Linked DNA regions of Homo sapiens: region 2 is linked to region 1. The links are contacts of gene promoters, found by promoter capture Hi-C in human tissues and cell types (Jung and others, 2019). All regions are on one chromosome and are shown on one strand. Each heading gives the region's core, a stretch centred on a gene start or on the middle of the fragment in contact. The rest is flanking DNA. Distances are from core to core; before and after follow the strand shown.

Evidence for each region. Contacts are between HindIII fragments. The study calls those that stand out against the background at their distance.
Region 2: a contact is called between a fragment that was not itself captured here and the fragment with the promoter of AIPL1 in region 1, in 1 of the 25 tissues and cell types used here (stomach).

What each region holds. Positions count from the first base shown.
Region 1 is chr17:6,433,871-6,440,106 of GRCh38, reverse strand. AIPL1 (AIP like 1 HSP90 co-chaperone) reads left to right here and starts at 4,986. Exons shown (of 6, transcript NM_014336.5): 1 at 4,986-5,098; 2 at 6,009-6,188. The coding sequence starts at 5,003. LOC107985017 (a long non-coding RNA gene) reads left to right here. Exons shown (of 3, transcript XR_001752776.2): 3 at 2,770-2,809. The HindIII fragment of the contact is 7,871 bases long and covers 2,142-6,236 here.
Region 2 is chr17:6,852,140-6,858,375 of GRCh38, reverse strand. It overlaps the pseudogene ALOX12P2. Among named protein-coding and RNA genes, the nearest start is that of TEKT1, 24 kb to the right of the region's middle. RefSeq lists an enhancer at 3,399-4,598. The HindIII fragment of the contact is 5,362 bases long and covers 54-5,415 here.

The sequences.
Region 1 (6,236 bases), core at 3,737-6,236:
GGAGGCTCCTAGTCCAGAGGTCGGTACATTGGCTTCTGTTCTTGGTAAGGAGGAAAAACCAGTCACTTTTTCCTAGCAGAGGCTTTTGGAGGGGGAGGGAATCCAGCATCACCCTTGCCTCCGTTGGGGAGGGGGACAAACGAGGAGCTCCAGCCCTGCTCTCCAGGGGCTCTTTGTCCAAGAGCAAACATTCCACTAGTTTCCTTGACCTCCTGAAACTGTCAATCTGATGGAAGACATAGACATTAAACACATCATTGTAAACAATTACAATGGGGCAAAATAGCATGAATGTGCAGTGCTAGGGAGAAGTGACAGGGTATAAGGGGCATGGGGAGATTGACAGGAGCTGGAGGTCAGGGTAGTCTTCCCTGAATGTGTGGTGTTTGAAGTGAGGAGCTAGTGGGCCAGTGGTTGGGAGTCTGGAGCATTGCCAAGCGTTAGGACTGGGGAAAGCCTAGACAAAAAGGGTGGGGCTGAGATGAGGGGCTGAGGGTAGGGGATGGGGTGGCAAGAGACAGGGTCTGTAGGCCAGAGAAGGAGCTTAAAATTTGTCCTGAAGGTGGTGGCAACTCTTTGCTGAATTTGAAGAGGGCAGTAGGTTATTAGATTGGCATTTTAATAAAGTCCATGAGGAGACTGGTTTGGGAGCAGCTATGGTTTTAATGTGTCCCCCAAATTTCATCTGTTGGAAACCGAATCCTCAAATTCGTATGTTGATGATATTTATGGGTGGGACCTTTGGAGGGTCATTAGGATTAGATAATATTATCAGGGTAGGACCCTGTGATAGGATTGGAGGCTTTACAAGAAGAGGAATGGAGACCTGAGCTGATGTGCGTGCTCTTGTCCTCTCACCATGTGATGCCTTCCACCACGTTATGATGCAGCAAGAAGGCCCTCACCAGATGCCAGCACCATGCTCTTGGATTTCCCAGCATCCAGAACTATGAGCTAAATAAATGTCTTTTTTAAAAAAATAAATTATGCATTCTGTGGTGTTCAGTTATAATCACAGAAAATGAACTAAGACAGGGGGCAAAGGGTTTCTGGGGCATCAGTCTGTAGCCTGTGGCACAACTCCAGGCACAGACCAGGAGTGAATCCTCATTCTTCTCAGCAGGGAAACCAACCCCCCTGGCATCGGCTTCAACATCCCCTTTTCTTCTCGCCCCCACATCCCCCAATCAGCTACAGGCTACATCTATCAGTTCTACTGTTTAAACATCTCTGCAATGTGTGTGTGCCCTTCGACCCTCTACAAAGGGAAACAACAGAAACAGTGGGAGAGTTTTAAGAAGTGTGAGAAGAGACATGATTGGATCCTTTTCACTGTGAATTATATCACCGATAGAAAACTGCCTAAGACATAAAATCTAGTGTCATGAATACAGTGAGTCCTTACTTAATGCTGTCAATAGGTGTTTGAAAACTGACTTTAGGCCGGGCGTGGTGGCTCACGCCTGTAATCCCAGCACTTTGGGAGGCCAAGGTGGGTGGATCACCTGAGGTCAGGAGTTTGAGACCAGCCTGGCCAGTGGCCAATGTGATGAAACTCCGTATCCACTAAAAAAAAAAAAAAAAAAAAAAAAAAAAATAGCTGGGTGAAGTGGCAGGCACCTGTAATCCCAGCTACTTGGGAGGCTGAGGCAGGAGAATCACTTGAACCCAGGAGGTGGAGGTTGCAGTGAGTCAAGATCGCGCCATTGCACTCCAGCCTGGGTGACAAGAGCAAAGTTCCATCTCAGAAAAAAAAAAAAAAAAAGAAGACTGACTTTAAATGAAATGACATATAAGGAAACCACCTTTTTTTCTCATCAACATTATAATGAAATGATGACATTGATTGAAACGATGTTATTTGAGGACCTGATGTATGTCCTTTCATTTCAGACTGCAGTTTCCAAGAACCTAAAAGGACATTAAGTGAGGACTTACTGTACTTATAAAGCCAACACCCATGTAACCATCACCTAGGTCAAGGGTGAGCACTGCCAGCATCCCAGAAGCAGACACTTGCCACCCGCAAGTGACAAGTGTGTTCTTCCTGTCTCCTTAGACTTTTATGATAAATACTTTTATTTTCCTTTGTAGTTTTGATACGGCTCTGATGACTGGAGGAACTCCAGGGTTCTTGGTCTTGCTCCAATAGGATTAACAACACGAACATACGTGGAGTAGTTTTAAGGAGTGAAAAGTTTAATAGGCAAGAAAGAAGGAAGGAAGAAGAGAATAGCCCCCCCATACAGAGACAGAGGGGGGGGATTTGAACAAAGAGAAAACCCCCTGTTTAGGGTGAGGGTGGTGGGAAGTAGCTGCTTATATGAGGAGGCTGAGGAGGTGGTGTCTGATTTCCATAGGGCCCAGGGGATTGGTTTGACCAGGTGTGTCATTTACAAACCCCGCAAAACACCTGGCCTTCCCACCTTAGTCCTTTAATATGCAAATGTGGGTCGCTATGATGTTCTGAACACAAGGTGTTATCTGGAGGTGGCCACGACACTCGGTACACCTGGTGACAGGGAAAAGACAGCAGGAATCTCCATATGAGTGAACCCAGTTTCTAATGGCCAGCATTTGCATGTCAAGGTTTGCCAGCCTGGCCCTTTAAGCAGCCTTTTCTGTTAGAAAAGAGATGGTTTGGGGGCTTGTTTTTTATTGCAGGAAAATTTCCACCAAGAACCTTTACCCTTACTATCTGCCTAAAAATTATTTCTTAATAATTCCTGTATTAGTTTTACTAAGTATCCATTTTACCTATGCATGCAGACCTCTCTAGGTTGCCGTGTGGCTGGAGAAAGGATGGAAGAGAGAAGGGGAAGGTTTTCAGCAGCCTTCTGCCTTCCAGGGATGGAGACTGGACCCTTGGGGATCTGGCCAGGATTCCCTGGGCCTGACCAGTTGGCCCAGGTTTGGTCTCCTCTATGCCAATGACTCCTCACGGGAAGCAAGACTTTCATGAGTGCCGGATTTCAGGGTGCCATTCACTGCTGCAGCCCTCCCAACTTCCCCTGAGAAGGAGCAGGAGAGGTCAATTTTCTCATTTCAGTTGGGAAAATGCAGTTAGAGAAAACGAGAGACATCCAAGGCAACAAGGTCAGTAAATAGGAAAGGATCAGCCCTTTGAACTTAGCTGTATCTGGCTCAGTCCAGTCTTCTTCTTCTTCTTCCTTCTTCTTCCCTCTTCCCTCTTCCCTCTTCCCTCCTCCTCCTCCTCCTCCTCTTCCTTCTCCTTCTTCTTCTTCTTCTGACACAGTCTCACTCTGTGCCCCAGGCTGGAGTGCAGCAGCATGATCTTGGTGCACAGCAACCTTCATCTCCTGGATTCAAGCGATTCTCCTGCCTCAACCTCCTGAGTAGCTGGGATTACAGGTGCCCACCACCACATCCGACTAAGTTTTGTAATTTTAGTAGAGATGGGGATTCATCATGTTGGCCAGGCTGGTCTCTAACTCCTGATCTGAGGTGATCCACCTGCCTTGGCTCCCAAAGTCCTAGGATTACAGCCATGAGCCACTGCACCCAGCCTAGTCTAGCATTTTTTGTTTTGTTTTGTTTTTTTGAGACAGAGTCTCGCTGTGTTGCTCAGGCTGGAGTGCAGTGGCACGATCTCAGCTCACTGCAACCTCCGCCTCCCGGGTTCAAGCGAGGCTCCTGCCTCAGCCTCCTGAGTAGCTGGGATTACAGGTGCGCACCACCATGCCTGGGTAATTTTTGTATTTTTAGTACAGACTACTAAAAATACAAAACTCCTGACCTCAGGTGATCCACCTACTTCAGCCTCCTTAGTCCCGTGTTTTTATCTCTCCCTGTAGCAGAGTCCTGCACCCCTTCCCTCTGCAACCGGTGAGCCTGGTGTCAGGAAGAGAATGGTTTCGTGGAGCTGAGTCCAGTGCCCTCAGGGTGCGGAGGTGTAGGAGCTTGAACTGGCCACACGGTGGTGCCAAACACCAGGTCTTCGCATTTATGTTTCCCAGCCCTTCTGGGCGTCCCTGATGCCCTCAATAAACTCTGCCTGGTTCCCAGGGCACAGGGCTAAGGGCCTCCAAAGGGGAGGGGAGGGGAGGGGAGGGGAGGGGATACCCACCCTTCCCCCAGCCAGACCTTGCAGGGGAGGCAGGAGCGGGGCTGCGGAGGGCGCCTCAACTTTACCCAAACCCACCCCGCCTTTCGTTCTCCGTCTTCCTTCTCTCCCAAGCCAGAAACCTGTCCCCTCTTGCCTTGGGCCACCATCGCAGGGCCTCCTGAAGGCAGATTCTGGGGAGGGGAGGGGGAACAGGGAAAGCAGAAAGGTGGCTGGATGGCAAAGGGCAGCTGTCACCCCGGCTGGCCTGGGGTCCTCGGGGACTTAGAGTCTGGGCCCAGCCCATGCCTCCCCTCCTTTTCCCCTTCAGTGGCCTCCAGGCCTCTCTCCACATCGCCAGGCTGGAGTGCAGTGGCGCTATCTTGGCTCACTGCAACCTCCGCCTCCCGGGTTCAAGCGATTCTCCTGCTTCAGCCTCCCGAGTAGCTGGAACTACAGGCGCCCGCCACCACCCCCGGCTAATTTTTGTATTTTTAGTAGAGATGGGGTTTCACCATATTAGCCAGGATGGTCTCGATCTCTTGACCTTGTGATCTGCCCGCCTCGGCCTCCCAAAGTGCTGGGATTACAGGCGTGAGTCACCGCGCCTGGTCCCCTGTCTTCTTTAAGAAAGCTCAGCGGACCTTTTTCCTTCTTGGGGTGGAACAAAAAGCCAAATCTAGCACAACCCTGGGCAGGGGCCCAGAATCACTGGAAGCAAAGGTGGATGGGATAGGAGGCGAGGCTGCCTGTGGACCACAGGCCCGGCCCGAGTGGCTCTGATGAGAAGCCGGGGCGCCTAGGTCACCGCCCCCACCGTCTGCCCTTCCCCCCACTCCTCCTGGCTGGGTAAATCCCAGAGTCTCAGCCGCCTAAGTGTCTTCCCCGGAGGTGAGATTATCTCCGCCTGTGCTGGACACCTCCCTTTCTCCTGCAGCCATGGATGCCGCTCTGCTCCTGAACGTGGAAGGGGTCAAGAAAACCATTCTGCACGGGGGCACGGGCGAGCTCCCAAACTTCATCACCGGATCCCGAGTGAGTGGGGCCCCTCCGGAGCAGACAGGGTCCCCCACAGCAGCTTTCAACATTCCAGGTGTGCCCCAAGGCACTGTAAACAGCTTTCAGCTGTGCCAAAAAAACAGCCAGGCAGCCCCAGCGCTGGGCCTCCGGGGAGCTCCCAGCGTTTACCCATTCAGGGGGCATTTTTGGTACTTTGCAGATTCAACTTTAGCATGGGCTGAGGGGAAGGGCTTTTGGGAATTTTCTGGGGCCCTAAATGTTGAGTGAGAAGAAAGGGAGTCCGAGGAGTCTTGGTATTTGTCCCCAAATGTCTGTTAGGCTTCCCTGGACTGAAGGGTGCGTCTGTGGCTACAGAATTCGGGCTTTGGCCAGGCGAGGCGGCTCCCGCCTGTAATCCCAGCACTTTGGGAGGCCAAGATGGGCAGATCATGAGGTCAAGAGTTCGAGACCAGCCTGACCAACATGTGAAACCCCATCTCTACTGAAAATACAAAAATTAGCCAGATGTGCTGGGCGCCTGTAATCCCAGTTCAGATACTCAGGAGACTGAGGCAGGAGAATCACTTGAGCCCAGGAGGTGGAGGTTGCAGTGAGCCGAGATCATACCACTGCACTCCAACCTGGGCAACAGAGTGAGACTCTGTCTCAGAAAAAAAAAAAAAAAAAAGAACTCGGGCTTACTTGAGGAAGGATTTCTGGACGCACAGGGCTGTGGGGAGTGGAATGGGGTCTGTAGGGAGGGGTGGGTCCCTCCTCCCTGGGGGGTGCAGGCAGGGTGGAGGTGCTCCAGGGGTCTGAGGCATCTGATGGGGTGAACTGAGTGAGCTGACCCTGGGGACAGCCCTGGGTGTCGGTGGCAAGGGGGTGGCTTCTGCCGGGCCTTGAACAGTGTGTCTAGAGCAGAGTGCACCGTCTCGGTGACTAGGTGATCTTTCATTTCCGCACCATGAAATGTGATGAGGAGCGGACAGTCATTGACGACAGTCGGCAGGTGGGCCAGCCCATGCACATCATCATCGGAAACATGTTCAAGCTCGAGGTCTGGGAGATCCTGCTTACCTCCATGCGGGTGCACGAGGTGGCCGAGTTCTGGTGCGACACCATCGTAAGTAGGCCCTGCGCGCCTGTCTCCTGGGACTAGTCTTTTCTGGGC
Region 2 (6,236 bases), core at 1,485-3,984, 420 kb before region 1:
ACTACCAATGAAATTTTTCACATAATTACAAAAAACTATTCTAAAATTCATATGAAACAAAAAAATAGCCCGAATAGCCAAAGTAACCCTAATCGAAAAGTACAAAGCTGGAGACATCACATTACTTAATTTCAAACTATATTATGAGTCTACAGTAACCAAAACAACATGATTCTGGTACAAAAACAGACACACAGACCAATGGAACAGAATAGAGAGCCAAGAAATAAAGTCACACACCAACACCATCTGACCTTTGACAAAGTCAACAAAAGCAGTGAGGAAAGGATTCCATATTCAATAAATGGTGCTGAGATAACTGGCTAGCCATATGCAGAAGACTGAAACTGGACTCCTTCCTTTCATCATATACAAAAATCAACTCAAGATGGATTAAATACTTAAATGTAAAACCTAAAACCATAAAAATCCTGGAAAATAACCTAAAAAATACCATTCTGGACATACGACCTGGCAGAGATTTCATGATGAAGAAACCAAAAGCAATTGCAACAAAAACAAAAATTAACAAACTGACCTAATTAAACTAAAGCGCTTCTATACAGAAAAAAACCCCACAAACTATTAACCCAGTAAACATACGGCCTAGCAAACTATGCATCTGGCAAAAGTCTAATATCCAGACTCTATAAAGAACTTAAACAAATTAACACGCAAAAAACAACTCCATTAAAAAGTGGACAAAGGACATGAGCAGACACTTTTCAAAAGAAGACATACATAGGGCCAAAAGGCGTATGAAAAAAAGTTCAACATCACTAATCATCAGACAAATGCAAATCAAAACCACACTGAGGTACCATCTCATACCAGTCAGAACGGCTATTAATAAAACCGCAAAAAATAACAGCCGCTGGAGAAGTTGCACAGAAAAGGAAATGCTTATATACTGCTGGTGGGAGCGTAAATTAGTTCAGCCACTAGGGAAAACAGTTTGGCATTTTCTCAAAGTACTTAAAACAGGACTACCATTTAGCCCAGAAATCCCATTATTGGGTATATACCCAAAGGAACATAAATTGTTTTGCCCCAAAGACACGTGGACACATATGTTCACCTAGCACTATTCGTAACAGTAAAGACATGGAATCAACCTAAATGTCCATCAATGGTAGACTGGATAAAGAAAATGTGGTACGTATACATCATGGAATACTACATAGCCATTAAAAAAAAGGTCATGTCCTTTGCAGCAACATGGATGGGGCTGGAGGCCATTATCCTAAGCGAACTAATGCAGGAACAGAAAACTAAAGACTACGTGTTTTAACTTATAACTGGACACAAGGAAGGGAACAACAGACACTGAGGCGTACTTGAGGGTGGAGGGTGGGAGGAGAGTGGGGATCAAAACAAACTACCTATCAAGAAACCTGCTTATCACCTGGGTGACAAAATAATCTGTACACCAAACCTCTATGACACAAAATTTACCTACGTAACAAACCTGCATATGTACCCCTGAACCTAAATGTTTAATATTTTTAAAAATGCAAATTTAAAGGATTTGGTTTTCCTTTGTAATTGCATCGTCATGCAATACGTAGATGTCCACCTTCTTTGCTCCAGTACATTTGATAATTTATTGGCAGATACTCGATACCTTTTGGATGATCTGACTTAAAAGGGACATTGTTTTCAAGAGACAAAATATAATTTCACTATCCTTAGTTTTCCTATTTTCAGTTTCACTCTCTAAAACATGACATCTCCTGTAAGGGAAAAACTTTGTCTCCAGATGTATGAAAAGCATCCTTAATTACACTTTATCTAAAACAATGAGACAACTCCTGGACTTTCTCAGACTGGTTGGCTATTGTAGAATGTGGATTCCTTGTCTGAACCCCTAGAACGAGAATTAACCTCTATAACAGTATTGGATCCTTTTAAAAACCTCCCTTTCCTCTTCCCCCAGCTTGGGACTCCCCAACTACTCCTTGCCCTTCTGCCTATTCATTCATGAGAGAGAACATACTTTAGATGTCCTGTCTCAGAAATACAAAAGGAGCCTGAGGCCCATTGGATATTTTACCTTCTTGCTAGGCCCTATAGCTCAAGCCTTCCTTCCTTGCTTCTGAGTTGTCATGGCAACAGCAAATTTGATTCAAGCCACAGTTGATTTTGTGCTAGGTCATACTTCGCACACTTCTGTGCCCAAGTGGTTCACATCTTTGTCCTGACTGCGAACCCCCAACGTTTTTCAACCTCTAACCTTACCTCTTATGAGATCCTTTTGTTTGCTCCTTCTCACATTACTATTCACCATTACCAAAATCTTAACCTTGTTACCATTTCTCTCCCAACTGAAGTACAACCACCATGACTGTATTTCAGCCACCTAAGCTCTAACCTTTCCCCGTCCTGATCTTTCTGAAGTACCTCTTATAGATCCAGATCTCATTTTCTTTGTTGATAGTTCATACCTCTGACTTCAGAAAGAGGTTTCCAGGCTGAATATGCCATTGCATATATCCACAGTCCCATAACATATGAGGCTTTACCCAGTGCAAATTATATCAGATAGAATAATTTGTGGCTCTCACAAGAACCTACACTTTAGCTAAGAATCAAAGAGTTAACATCAACACAGATAACAGATATGTTTTTAGGGTATTACATGACTTTGACCTGTTGTGGAAAGCCAGGGAATTTGTGACTACTAGTTTAAAATGGGAAATGTGGGTAACCTCCTAGAGGCCTTATTATTACAAGAGCTGGCCATACTCAAGATAGAAGCTTATATGGGCAATAGACCCCTAAGGCAAGGGGAAGCTCAGCTGATAAGTATGCTAAGTAGCAGTTTATAAATCTGTCCCAGTCCCACTGTAATCAGACCAGATATTAAACCTACTCAGTTTGCCAATTTATCCTCTATTTGAGGACATTAAAATATCTCAGTTAAAGGCCCCTGAAGATGAAAAGGCTAATTGAAAACAAGGTGGATGTTTTACCCACCAAAAAGTCCAAAGATAGGCTTTGAAGACACTGAGAAGGCTACTTGGGCTCTCCTTCGTCCCTGACCTGAAGTTCAGTCTTCACAAAATTTTTCATCATGGGAAAATACTGACTCAATGCCTTCATCATCATTTGTGGGGAAACTTCACTCCTTACTTGGAATATCTGCCAACAACAGAATCCTGGAAAAGTTATAAAGGTAGAACGAGGAAGAGAGCCACCTCTAGCAGGACTCTTTCTCTATTGGCAAAGATATTTTATTCAACTTCCTAAGTCAGTGTTATTAATATGCCCTGGCCATTGTTTTTATGTTCACTTATTGACTAGAAGCTTTTCCACGTAAGAAGCCCACAGCTGCAACTGTTTGTTCTCTTAGAACAAATTTTCCCCTCCTGAGGAATTCTACTTGCCCTGTCAAGTGACCAGGGAACTCATCGCACCAGTAAAGTCATCCAAAAAAATCCAAGAGTTCTTCCTCTGTCCCCCAAATTACATGATCCTCACCATATCCAGTCATGCAGAATGATTGAACAAGCAAACAGACAAAACTAAAATTTTCAAAACGTTCTGAGGTGAGGCCAGGTGTGGTGGCTCATTCCTGTAATCCCAGAACTTTGGGAGGCTAAGGCAGGAGGATTACTTGAGACCAGCCTGGACAACTTAGTGAGACCGCATCTCTAGAGTAAAAATACATATTTATATTTTTAAAACTTTCAGAGAACTCAACCTTCCATGGCCCAAGGTCTTTCCCTTGGTCCTAATTGCTCTCTAGCCTTTCCTTGTTAGACCACACCTGCCCCCTCAAAAAACAATTACTAGCAGAACTATGAGAATTCCCTACTCTATAAGGGCAACAGAAGACTCCAGTGAAGTTAATTCAGACATGATTTCAGAATTCAACCTTGAATGCATGTCTCACAACTTAAAAAGTACAGGAGTTACTTACAATAAAAATCTACTTCACCTGGAGATCTTAAACCGGGGCTCTCCAGGATTATGGCTGCCTCTGCTGAGTCATGCAGGTTGTCAGAGAAGCAGGGGAAAGCCGGCAGTCACAGGCCTCCCCCAGATCCCACGCACACCGAAGGGCTGGTCTCACTCCCACCGTGTCCCCTGCAACACCTCTGAGTCTGTTTCCAGACAGAGGACGGGCTTGAAAACTTGCCCGAGGCTTTCCGCCTCCCACCTGTGAAAGAAAAGGGCTTTAGTTCTTCCCCCACCTGTGAAGTCTGCAAGCCAGATCCGCATCCTCCCCCAAGTTCCGGCCAGGAGGCTTCTCGCCCCACTCAAATTGTTACAAAATTCAGCTAGGGAAGTCCTTCTCCCGGTAGGGTTTTACCTCCTGCTCCTCTGGCCTCCCTCCTGATGAATCCCAGTGGTGCCAGGCAGGAATAGGCTACCTGGGGATTCAAAGAGCTCCCAGGGCCTCCCTGCTGCCTCCTCTGCCCCTGTATTTCGCTTGGTCCGGTTCTCTAACTTGACTCAGCTCCAGGTGAAGTCGGGAGCATCTCCCGGAAGCAGACCTTCAGCTTCTCCAGTAGGGGGTGTGTGTTCCGGAAAGGAGGGTCTCCCTTTCCCACTTCCGCAGTTGGGGCACTCACAGTATTTGGGGTGTCCCCCGGGTCCTGCAGGAGCAGTCTGCTTCTTTCAGAGGGTCTGTGGGCCCTCTCTCAAAATATTTTTTTAAATATTAAAAGCAGCTGCTGATAGGGTTTGTCCCCACCAAATACCATGTTAAAATTTGATCTCCAGCGTTCAAGGTGAGGCCCGGTGGGAAGTGTTTGGGTAATGAGGACAAATCCCTCCTCAATGGTTTGGTGCCTTCCCGTTGGTAATTAGTGAGTTCTTGTTCTATTACGTCACGTGAGAGCTGGGCTGGTTGTTTAAAAGAGCCTGGCATCTCTCTAGCTCACTTTCTCACCGTGTGACATGCCTGCTTCCCCTTCACCCTTCAACATGAGTAGAACCTTCCTGAGTCCCCTATCAGACATAGATACTAGTGACATGCTTCTTGTACAGTCTGCAGAATCATGAGCCAAACAAACCTCTCTTCTTTTTTTCTTTTTTTTTTTGAGATGGAGTCTCGCTCGGTAGCCAGGCTGCAGTGCAGTGATGCGATCTGGGCTCACTGCAACCTCCGCCTCCCAGGTCCAAGTGATTCTCCTGCCTCGGCCTCCGGAGTAGCTGGGACTACAGGCACGTGCCACCACGCCCAGCTAATTTTTTTATTTTTAGTAGAGACGAGTTTCACCATGTTGGCCAGGATGGTCTCAGTCTCTTGACCTCATGATCCGCCCGCCTCAGCCTCCCAAAGTGGGAGGCCCCTCTTTTCTTTATAAATTACCCAGCCTCAGGTATTCCTTTATATTAATAGTAATGCAAAACAGACTAACACAGATGGAGAAATGGATTCCAGCTTTACTTATTAGAAGCTATACCCTAAAATGCGTTGAGGGGGAATACCAGTAAGTACCAAGACAAAGAGCTCTCAGAGAACCCCCCAAAGATCCAAGCCTTGGAGTTACCCGTTTCCTAGAATACATGAAAGTGAGAAATACCAGGACTGGCTAAAAGTCTATATATGGAACAATGCCCAACCCACATACCCCACCTTGCACGGAAGATACACCTTTGTCAAGACCCTAGAGTTTTATTCTCTGGAGAAACTGAAATGAAGAGGGTCTGAACTTAGAGCATTAGGTACAGAGATCAGTTCGATTGGGGGATAACGTAAAATGGGGATAACGTCAAAGTCTGCAAAATGAACAGTGAAGCCCCATCCTTTTTCCCGCTCCCTGCCCCTAGAACATCAGGAGCCAGGTGTTGTTCTGAATTCAGGCAATTGGAAGAATAATCTATTAAAAAAAAATTCTGGGCCGGGCATGGTGGCGTAATCCCAGCACTTTGGGAGGCTGAGGTGGGCGGATCACAAGGTCAGGAGATCGAGACCATCCCGGCTAACATGGTGAAACCCCGCCTCTACTAAAAATACAAAAAAATTAGCCGGGCGTGGTGGCGGGCGCGCCTGTAATCCCAGCCACCTGGGAGGCTGAGGCAGGAGAATGGCGTGAACCCGGGAGGCGGAGCTTGTGGTGAGTAGAGATCTCGCAGCTGCACTCCAGCCTGGGCGACAGATCGAGACTCCAACTCGAAAAAAAAAAAAAAAAAAATTCTGAATTGCCCCAGAGAAAATATCTCCAAATATCAATATCTGGGGATGCCCCAATAATCACCACCAGACTACTCAGAAAAATTTACAA